2 separate regions of the Homo sapiens genome follow, and region 2 is linked to region 1. Evidence: promoter capture Hi-C in 16 types of primary human blood cells and fetal thymus (Javierre and others, 2016). All regions are on one chromosome and are shown on one strand. The core of a region is centred on a gene start or on the middle of the fragment in contact, and the rest is flanking DNA. Distances in the headings are between cores, read along the strand shown. Region 1 holds the start of PRCP (prolylcarboxypeptidase). Region 2 holds the start of PICALM (phosphatidylinositol binding clathrin assembly protein).

What was found. The method cuts DNA at HindIII sites, captures the fragments that hold promoters and counts their contacts. A CHiCAGO score of 5 or more calls a contact.
Region 2: the fragment with the promoter of PICALM here is called in contact with the fragment with the promoter of PRCP in region 1 in 1 of 17 cell types (non-activated CD4 T cells); the score reaches 7.2 in non-activated CD4 T cells.

What each region holds. Positions count from the first base shown.
Region 1 is chr11:82,896,170-82,901,679 of GRCh38, reverse strand. PRCP (prolylcarboxypeptidase) reads left to right here and starts at 1,250. Exons shown (of 9, transcript NM_005040.4): 1 at 1,250-1,445. The coding sequence starts at 1,278. It overlaps LOC124902602, which reads left to right. Exons shown (of 2, transcript XM_047427953.1): 2 at 1-766. The coding sequence ends at 656. RefSeq lists silencers at 315-404, 455-504 and enhancers at 715-764, 1,045-1,144, 1,295-1,354, 1,475-1,524. The HindIII fragment of the contact is 4,585 bases long and covers 1-2,265 here.
Region 2 is chr11:86,066,406-86,071,915 of GRCh38, reverse strand. PICALM (phosphatidylinositol binding clathrin assembly protein) reads left to right here and starts at 2,832. Exons shown (of 20, transcript NM_007166.4): 1 at 2,832-3,265. The coding sequence starts at 3,136. It overlaps LOC124902731 (a long non-coding RNA gene), which reads right to left and starts at 1,992. Exons shown (of 2, transcript XR_007062823.1): 1 at 219-1,992. RefSeq lists silencers at 2,318-2,587, 2,738-2,907, 3,048-3,097, 3,168-3,217 and enhancers at 1,843-3,042, 2,782-3,483, 3,484-4,186. The HindIII fragment of the contact is 7,123 bases long and covers 1-3,988 here.

The DNA of each region.
Region 1 (5,510 bases), core at 1-2,500:
CCAATCAGAAGAAGGCGCCGCAGAGGGTGGAGCTTAGCGAGGAAATCCTACAAGCATCTGGAAACGACCATTTTCGTCAAACTGCGGGTAGAGTCTTTCTCCCCGACAGGTGGATCAGTAGTACAGTCCGTAAAATTGGTTTTGGAGCTTCGCTGAGCCTCCTGGGCGTAGGGTTCCCGGGAAAGTGTGGAGTGAGCCGCAGCGCCCTGGGGTCTGGCGGGGTGACTGAAAGAGGGAATGGAAGCTGGATGAAGAGGGTTGAGGGAGCTTTGGAAGCCAGACCCGGCGCTGTCCTAGGGGCTAGCACTACCCACGGGCGGAGGGAGGAAGGGGGCGGTGGCAGGAGGCAGGAGGGGGGTGGAGCGCGGAGTGGGTTTTCGGGTGCCGGAGAAGAAAGGGGGCGTTATTTGAAAGAAGGGACCGGGACCTGGCGGGATTTAGGGGCGATGTGGACCCGGGGCGACCTGTGTAATGGATGGGTTGTGCGAGCAACACAGTTTTGGGGTGACCCAAGAACGGAGTATCATAGGGAGTGGTTAGGCTCCAGATGGAGGTGGGTGCAAGGAGCACAGTCTTTGGACCTGGACCCAGCGGTCTGCGACGACGTGCTCCGCTCACTGCTGAGTGATCTAGTGCAAGTTCCCGCACCTCTCTGAGCCTCAGTTTCCACATCTGTAGATGGGAATAACAATCATATACGACGCACAAGATTGCTGTGACGATTTAGTTAGAGGAGATGATGCGTGTGCCTCCCTGCCTCGTGATACACTGGCCTGTAGTGAACCTTCAATAAATTGTCATGGTAGCTGTTATTGCCGTTACGTAGGATTTGCGGAAGGCAGGAGGTGTCGCAATGGAATTGCGGTGGCCAGGGCAGGGTTTGGTGGTGATGATAATGGTAGGGATATTGGGTGACCTGAAGGACAGGTGGGCTTCGGGGGCGCTATAGATAAAGCATGGGCTACAGCGATGAGTTAGGAAGAGGCCCTAGCATGATAAGGGCAGACTTGGGGTGTGACCGCAATGAAGGTGAGTGCTAAGGAGCAGATGGCACGAGAGGAAAGTGGAGTGGAGGCGGTGTCCTCGGGGATGGGGGCGGAGTGGCTGTGGTGACCTGGCTTGGGCGGCGTCTCTGAGGAGCTGGCTGGCTTTGGGTTTCCCCTGGGAGGAGCTGTTTTGCGGCGGGCGGAGCTGCAGGCTGGGCAGGGCTTAGCCTGTGCGCTTCTGCTGGCCTCCTTTTCGCCCTCCCACCCGCACTGCAGTCTCCAGCCTGAGCCATGGGCCGCCGAGCCCTCCTGCTCCTGCTTCTGTCTTTTCTGGCGCCCTGGGCCACCATAGCCCTCCGGCCGGCCTTAAGGGCCCTCGGCAGCCTACACTTGCCAACCAACCCCACATCCCTCCCGGCTGTAGCCAAGAACTATTCGGTTCTCTACTTCCAACAGAAGGTAAGGGGGAGCGGGGGCTTCGCCGTCCCAGGCCCAACCGCCGGGAACCCTGACCCTCAGAGCCCGGGCAACGGAGCCTACCTCGAAATTCACACCCCTTGATGCCTAGGATCTGTTCGGTTTTTGGCTAACATCTTCCAGAAGGTGGTCCCAAATCCCAGTTCTGTTTAAATTTTCTCCTCCCATTACCAATAATTTGGTAGTAGTTTTGGCTGCATACTCTTGATTCAGGCTTTTCTGTAATTGGACACGACAGTCACTTCAACTCCCTCTGCTCCCAGAGGGTGCCCCAATCCGAACTCCCTTGACCTTCCCTCAAATTCAAATTATTAAATGCCAGCTCTGGTACCTAGTCTGCGGTGATAGTCATCCTTTGCCCCAAGGCAGCCCTAAATACAAATTTTAATATCTTTACCTATTAGAAAATATTGGATAGTTATCCATCCTAAAAGCCAGCCTCTCAGAAGGGGTCAGCTCAGAGCTGATTTTGTAGCCCTATTATTAAGAATTGTTGACAGTCCCTATTCCCCATAAGACTGAATGTATGTAGCCTATGCTTGTAAAAGGAGTTGTAGGAGTTTGTGGTGGGGGTGGGGATTAGCCTTTCTATGGTCTGTAACGTGAAATTAGAGGTTTTTGGGCTTGATGCCTTTGTGCTTGGCTGCAGCATGAGGCATTCCCCCACAGGTCTTGATGGAAAAGTACATCCTCTGTGAAATGACAAGTAATCCTTACAGTTCAGCATTTCTGAAAGCCTGTGTAAAAATAGGAAAAGATTTGGAAAAGGTTGGGATTAGAAAGAGTGCAAGGGTCTGAAGCTTGGCTTTAGGAGTCAGATAGAACCGGATTCCACCCTGCTAGCTCTGTGACCTTGGGCAGGTTACAGTACTTCTGTGAGCCTAGTTCCTTGATCTCTTGGGGTTTGTGGTGATGGTTGAATGAGAGCAGATAACGTACTCTTAGCAGAGTATCTGGCTTCAAGTAGGCACTCATATAATATGTGGTTATAGACCTATGTGAAATTTTGTTGTTGTTAATTGTGCAGAGACAAGGCTCACTATGTTGCCCAGGCTAGTCTTGAACTTGTGGGCTCAATAATCCTTCTGCATCAGCCTCCCAAAGTGTTGGGATTACAGGTGTGAGCCACTGAGCCCAGCCCTTATGTGAATTTGGAATGGGAATTTGTGGTAGAGGGATGTCATAGACTTCCAGAATAACTTAGAAATAATTTAAAAATTTTTTTATTTTTAAAAATAGAGATGGGATTTTGTCATCTTGCCTAGGCTGGTCTTGAACTCCTGGGCTCAAGCGATGCCCCTGTCTTGGCCTCCCAAAGGGCTGGGATTGCAGGCGTGTGCCACTGTGTCCCCAGCCAAGAAACAATTTTTAACCCAGACATTTGAGTTCAAGTTTATGAGGAAGAGAAAACATTTTAATTTTAGCAGGGGTACTAGGAAATAATCTTTTTTCTCAGGCAACTCCCTTAAATTAATTCTCTAGGGCATAATTCCCTCATTTGTAAATTAGGAGGGTTGGGACAAGGACCAATGTGTTTTACACTTTACTGAGGAAAATTAAGGGCTCTTTGGGGAGCTGTTTCAGAGGGAAAGTGGATGAAGGCTGAAGTGGAGGCCAAATTAGGTGCTCTAGTACCCTCTCTTGGATCTCTTTCAGCTTTTACCTGTTTTATATGCTGGGATTTTATATACAACTATTTGCAGAACTCAACTGCTAAAGTAAAACGGTGGGGAGGACTATTGGATTGGGAGATCTCTAAAATCCCATTGGGATTGATGAAAAAGAGAACTATCAGCAGAAAAGAGGAAGGGAACAAATGAGTTGTTAGTACCTTAGTTCCTAATTTATGTTCCTTTATTGTAGATTCTTTTCTTGGCCACTACACTCCTTAGAAATATAATTCAACACTGTTTCTTTTTCCATTTTTGATGATATGCAAAGTCCAGCTTTACTCAGCCACATTTTGTCCACTGGCTTATATTTAATTTATATTTTAGGATACAGATTCCACGTATGTATTTATTACCATAATAATAATTTTTCTTCTGTCTATTCCAATTGAGTTTTATTTCATTTTCTGAGGAAAACTTTTACATATGTATTTATTGCATAATTATAATTATACTAGTTGCCAATTTCTGAACCATTGATTTTTAGTTAGGACTATGTGTGAACTCAACTTTAAGTTTTTAAGTTAGAGCACATGAAATACTTTGATGCCTTCTAGTAATAAACTTATTATTAAAACTGTAAGGCTTAGTTTTTTATTCAAGGTTTAATTTTTATTAAACTTTATAATGATTTACCTGTGGTTATATCTGCCCCAGTGACCAAGCTGGACCCAGCTGTCCTTCTATGTATATAAAGGATGTGGTTTTATGGAGTGGTCTCTAAGAAGGCTTAGCCCATGGTCTTATCCCTCCCCTGCTTAGAAATTCTTCATAACTCTGATTGCAGGATAAAGGCCAAACACCTTGGCATGGGAATCCATTGTTCCTTACTATGTAACCCTAGCTGGTCGTTCCAACTTTATATTCTGCCATAATTCCCCATCCCAGCTCCCACTTTTAGCAACCTAACAGACTCAAGTGACTTTTACTGTGTCAGAAATTCTGTCTGGAATACCATCCCTCTTCCCCACTATTTAAACTCATAATTCTATTCCAGCAGAAATGTCTCACCTCTTCTGCGAATCTTTGACTTCTTTAAGGAAATTTAGTTGGTCTTTTTTCATCCTGCACATTTACTATATTGTATGTGTCCCTCCAGCTCGTTAGTACTCTACAATACCTAGAAGAGCCTATAAAAAAGTATAAAGCACAAAATAAATAGTTGTTGAAAGAGTGAATGCATGATTATTCAAAAAGAACCTAAACAAAGCAAAGGCTACCATCATTTAATTGTCACAAATCATTTTTTATTTTTCTTTTTATCTTTTACTTTAATTCTTTACTAATTATTTTTTCCTCCTTTTTCAAGGTCTTCAAATATTGAGTTAGGTAGGACTATTTGATTTCTTTTACCTGAAATAACTGAATTAGGAGACCAGAGAGAGGATAGTACATCACTTGGGCACATCGAGGCTCTGGGTACATGTGTAGTATGTGTGGTATCAGTGTCATAAAGGGCTCTCTGGAATATGTGGCTTGTGGTTACAATGTTGCATGCTTATTACCTTGTACCTCCCACCTGAGCCCCTCAGGCTAGAATGTGAGTCCCAAATCACACATTTTAGTGTGTGATGTAGTGAAGAGGGAGAATGGGTCCTGTCAGGCCATCATTTTTCTCAGTGGTAAAATTGGGAGCAATATCTATTGTATTAGGGTGTGTGTCTGTGTGTTTCTCTCTCTATGAGAGAGATTTTTATTAAGGAATTGGCTCATGCAATTGTGGAGGCTTAGTAAGTCCAAAATCTTCAGGGTAGGTTGGAGGCTGGAAACCCAGGGAAGAGTTGCAGTTTGGATGCCCAGGCATTCTGCTGGCAGAATTTCTTCTTGCTTAGGGGAAGTCAGTCTTTTTTTTTTTTTTTTTTTTTTTTGAGTTGGAGTCTCGCTCTGTTGCCCAGGCTGGGGTGCAGTGGTGAGATCTCGGCTCACTGCAACATCTGCCTCCTGGGTTCAAGTGATTCCCCTGCCTTAGCCTCCCGAGTAGCTAGGATTACAGGTGCCCGCCACCACGCCTGGCTAATTTTTGCAGTTTTTAAAATACAGACAGGGTTTTACCATGTTGGCCAGGCTGGTCTTGAATTCCTGACCTCAAGTGATCCACCCACCTTGGCCTCCCAAAGTGAGGGGAAGTCAAACTTTGTTCTATTAAGGCCTTAAACTGATTAGATAAGGCCCACCCAAATTATGGAGGGTAAAGTCCACTGATTTAAAGTCCGCTGATATAAATGTTAATCTCATCCAAAAAATACCTTCACAAAAACATCTAGAATGATATTTGACTAAATAGCCGGGCACCATGGCCTATAAAGTTGGCATATAAAATTAATCATCACATCCACCAAGGTTGTTGTCAGAGTTCAGTGTCGTAACAAATGAAAGC
Region 2 (5,510 bases), core at 1,583-4,082, 3.2 Mb before region 1:
TAGGTGGCCATGTGAGTTGGCACATGTGGAACTTCAGGTAAGATATTTCTTAAATAGACTGAAGAAACTGACACAGAGAAAACTTAAGTATATAAGATAAAGTAGGTCAGTAATGCCTATTCTTAGTTCTAATTCCCCATCTTCTTCTAAATTGGTCCATGTATTTCATTTCACAATTACACATAAACCTCTACAATGGTCACTGATTATTTACATACTTAGAAACTTCTAAAATGAGGCCAGATCATGAAGAACCATGTATGCCAGGTTGAGAGTTCTTAATTTCATCCTTTAGGGTAGCGATGGGGGAGTTACTGGAAGATTTTAATGCAAAGAAAAGACAATCACATTTTGGTTTCAGAAGGATCTGAATTGGAGAGTCAGGGTATAAAAGACAGAGAATCAGCTAAGAAGTTACTAAAACAGTCTAGTATAACAGAGATCATAAAGGCTGGAACTAAGGCAACAGAAGTGGGGTTAGAGATGGGATGTGTTTGAGAGATAAAAGTAGATTAGGCTTGATGAGGGAAATAAGACAGAAGGAGAACTCAGAATCACAGCTTTCTGAGCGGAGCTTCTGGACATGTGGTGAGGCCATTAACGGATATAGGGAACAGTATGGATTAAAGATGTAGGATGCTGGGCAAGGGCAAGAGAAGTTCAGTATTGGCCATGGTGAGTTGGCATCTGTGGAACTTCAGGTAGAGATATTTCCTGAATAGACCAAGGAAACTGACACAGAAAACTTAAGCATATAAGACAACATAGGTCAGTAATGTCTACCCTTAGAACAATTCCCCATCTTCTTTTAAATTTCTCCATATATTTCAGTTCACAACCACACATAAACCTCTTCAATGATTACTGATTATTTACATAGTTAGAAATTCTACTATGTATACTTGGAAAAAAATAAAATATTTCTAACAGCAGCTTGTTTGTTAATAGGGTAAACATGTCAACAATTATTGTCACAAAAGTGGTCTGAAAGAACCTCTTTGGTAAAAGTAATAGTGTAATACTTTCCTGTTATGTACTTAGGAATGACTGGCATTTTCCCTAAGGATAAAATATTCAGCTGTTGATAGCTAGACCATGTTAGTGTTGACCTCAGATTGGGGTTTACCAATGCAGAGGCTCAGGCCAATCAGTAACTTATACAGTGGAACCCATAGACCAGTAGCAATGATGGCTGATAACATGTCTTGAGAATTTGGTAATTCCACTGCCCAGTGGACGTGGGGCAGCAAACTGGGCACCAAACCACAGATGGATTGCAGTACACTGAAGGAATTCATTATAGTTTTGTGAAATTGGAGGCTGGCTTGACAAAGATGAAGCCTGCTGGGATTAAAAACTTGTGTGTTCTTGGCAAGAGCATGTTGCTGCAGAATTTCACCAGCCATAGTGGGGAAAAAAGAGGGGTGAGGGGGCGTGGGGAAAATGGGAGACCACAAAATTCCTGATATGATACATAAAATGTTAAATATCTATCAGCTTTGCATCCTTTGAGAGTCACCAGATTGAAGCACAGTATTTTGGATTTGGCTGGCAGATGGTGTACACAGACTTTCTGAGAATGTTAGCATTTCATTTGAAACTAGCAAGATTACATGTGACTATCATGGTAACTTAGCACTCACATATTTTTCAACTTATCCCTAACCCTGGGTTGAATGTAGAGGCTCTAATAACATATAAAAGGCTTTGTTAATGTATGGTCTGGGTCTCATTGAATAGTATTTCAGGATGTAATACTTCTTTTAAAATGTCCACAGGGCAGTGTCAACGTCTTTCCATGGAAATCTGGCTCACCCAATAAGAGAAAAGAGGCCAAAGGTAAGAAAGACTAAACCAGGGGAGATGGCAGGCAGTGATGTCTGGACTGTTTGAATGGGACTTCTCCATTTACCGCCCCTCTCACTTCCTTCTATGGTCTGGACCTTTAATCACCACAGCAGTCAGCCATGTAGGGTCAAGCTAATCGCTGTTGACATCATCCTACTACTTCCCTTTTCAAATTCCAGTGAAGCTATGTGTTTCCTGTCCTATTCCACACCCTAGAGAATGAATACCGGCCAGCTAGTATCTAAATTTAGAATGGCAGCAACGTGTCGGGTTTTCGGAGTAGAGATAAACAAAACCAGGTGACATTTCCAAGCCTCTCAAGGAAAGGGGGGAAAAAACCTTTCTGGGGTAAGTAAATAAGGAGAGCTTCAATAGTTCCATGGTAGAGAGAGGCCTGCTGGAAGGTTCAGAAAATAGGCCGTTTGGAACCTTCTCCTTTAAGCCAGGAGGGCGGCTTTGGGAGGCGTCTTGAAATACATTCTTGACTCTGCTGGGAAAGCTCGGGGAGCCAGAGGCCTAATACCCCCCACTTCAGGGGAAGCTGTGAAGGCAGCTGCACCTCCTTTGTCAAGCTGTTGGTTTCAACCACAGACACGAGGACACACTTGAGGTGGGGGGATAAGGGGAGAAGCCTGCCGCCCCGCCCCACCCCCGCCAGCACACCGCCCTCGCCATTCCTCTCCCGCCCCGCCCCGCCCGGCGTCTGTGACCCCGCGGGCCGAGCCTCAGGCGACCTGTTGGCAGGGAGAGTCACGTGATGCGCCGGCTGTGCACTCCCCTCGGGCGGGCCTCCTGTTGCGCCCGCCTGGCGAGTTCCATCACGTAACGCGCGGGCGCCGCCCAGCTCTTCCCTCGCTGAGCGAGGGAGGGCGGGCGTCGAAGAGGAAAGGGAAGGGGAAAGGGGCGGGAGAAGGGAGGAGGGGCGGTGTCCGAGTCACGTGACCCGGGGCAGCCCGGAAAGCTCCGAGGAGGAGCCTGGCGCCGCCATTTTCCTGCAGCTGCCTGTTCCTCTTACCCTGCCCGGCTCCAGCTGACCCGGGAAGGGGTGGGCTGAACTGAGGCGGGGGCAAGGGAGTGCCCGACATCTTGTCCGACTCCGCGGGTGACACGAGCCGGTTCTCTCTGGACTGGTGGCAGCGCGCGGCCCCGAACCGCGCCCCAGGCCGGCAGGCGGGGAAGGAGCCGGTGGGGGTAGGGGGTGCGGTGGGGGGTGGGGACCCTCCGGCTCTTGGGGGTCCCAGTCCCCGCCGGCTGCTGAGCGGGTGGGGTGGTGGAGGAGCTGCAGAGATGTCCGGCCAGAGCCTGACGGACCGAATCACTGCCGCCCAGCACAGTGTCACCGGCTCTGCCGTATCCAAGACAGTATGCAAGGCCACGACCCACGAGATCATGGGGCCCAAGAAAAAGCACCTGGACTGTGAGTGAAGCCGACCGCGGCCCCCGCTCCCCGGCGCCCGCGCGACCCGCGCGCGTCCTTCTCTCTCTCTCTTGTCTTTCACCCTTCTACTGCCTCTTCCCTCCCTGCGTCTTCTCTGGCACGGCCGGTCCTGTGCCCGTTGAGCTGTGTTCTTTTGCTTCCATCACACCTGCCTTCACGGCCTCCGCTCCCCGTCTCAAAATCTGACAAGCCACTCCCCTCCCTATTCCTAGGGGACCCTCGTCTCCCTGCCCGGTGCGCTACCACACCCCATCATACCCAACCAACTTGCTTCCCCACCTGGCTTCTCACCCCCTACCCGTCTCCACTGCAGCCTTCTGCTCTTCCTTCCCACCCGTCCGGTGCCGCCTCGTCGCCCTCGTCTGAGCGTCTCCAAGCCCCATTGTTTCTTCATCAGCCTCCTTCGGGTTTCAGTAAACGCCTGGTTCCTTGCATCCAGATCCTTGTTATCCCTCCGGGCTGCCTCCCTGGAAGGGATCCCCCACTTCCTTTGCTCCACTAGCTGCTTCGCCCATCCCTTCCTGGCTTTCTGTTCCACCTTCCCTCCTGCTTTTGGGTTACCTTTTCATCGCCTCTATAGTAGCTTCAGTGTAGTTTCTTCGACTCATTTTAAATACCATACCCAGTTACCCGACTTTTATTTCAGATTACCTTCTTTGTGGGAGTGAAAGTAAAAGGATTCAATTTGGTGTAGGGAAAGCTTTCTGGAAAGTTGGGATTTTTATTTGCCTCTGGTGGAATTTAATCGTTGTGTTGTCCATACTTTTGACTGGGGTGAGTTTGTGACTGTCAGCTCTGCCCCCCAGCTTTTCACATGGGGATATGGAAAAAGGCATTTTGCTGATACTCTTATCAGTTCCTGGAACTGTTAATTCTGGCGGCTTGAATTCAGAAGCTTGAGTGTTAAGCGTAGACTGTTGGAATTCCAAATGGATTAATAAATTTACTTACAAATAACATACATCCCTTAAAAAAATTGGCAAAATGATGTTTGATGATGCTTGAGTTTGGATGTTTTAATTATGCCAGTTACCTTTTGAGGAACTAGCTTTAGCTTCTCTTACACGACATAGTATTCGTCCATTCGCTAACGTAGATACAATTAGTAGAGCTAACTCCTCGTAACTTTTTTCTAACCTGGAAGTCACCTGTAATACCCTCCTTTTTCTTTGCGCTCTTTTACCCCAGGGTACAAAGCTCATTGGATCACTCAAGCCAATGGAGCTTAGACCTGAAACTTTTCAGGGAAAAATAGGGCAATAGTCACGATAAGTAAGTTCCCTTTTTAAATGACTGGACACATTAGTCTGACTGACTTTCATCATACATGAAAGTTACTTTGTTTTACTGTTTGAAGCAAGAGTGAGCATGCCCTGAAAGATAATTCACTGTCTGGAAGCCTGTTTTGATTTCTCATTTGGACTTTGGCCGTAAAGTTTGCACTTTAAAAAAAATGTACGAAATGTAGATTCTTCCAAGTTACTGTGCTCATGAATGCTGTTAGAACAAGTTTTTGCTACACAGAAGCCTATTATTCTTTGTGATTGTTCCTCCACTGTGGAAAAAAGTTTTAAATAAAAAAGCATTAGTGCTTGATTCTTTCAGATATGCATGCAGGCTGCTTTTAAACTCTCAGTCCTTGCTTGTCTTAGAGAATGGAGAATATGTTTAAATGGTGACACTCTTATGAACAGAAAACTTTTTAAAATGCATCGTAAAGCCATATGTGATTTTTTGATTATCTGATACGTGTAGTAGACGTTTCTGCTATTTACGGCTCTTCAAATACTACTTGGTTTGCCCTACCAAATCTTACAGTTTGTCCTGACACTGTGTTAATTCTTTTGTTAGTTGCTTTTGGTTTTTTTTTGTTTTTTTTTTTTGTATGGGAGTATGAAGAAACTAGTTGTGACTGTGTGAACTATTTTCCTCTTTCCTCATTCAAAATAAGAATCGATAAGGCTTTTAAAAGTTTTTTTTGTAAAGGTTTGTGTCTTATTTCAAATGTAGCAGTGGTTCTTTTAAAGCATTGTCAAAAAGAGGAGAAAATAGGTAGGGTTAGAAGAGTGCTATTTGCATGTTGTTTCATAAATGTTATTAGCTATTTCTCTTGTTATAGCCACTACTGCAGATAGATGGTAACTGGGATTAGGTTTGGAGGATAATCTTGCATTTGTCGTTCTTTTTCTCTACCACTTCTGTGTTTACAAGCTCCCACGTTTTT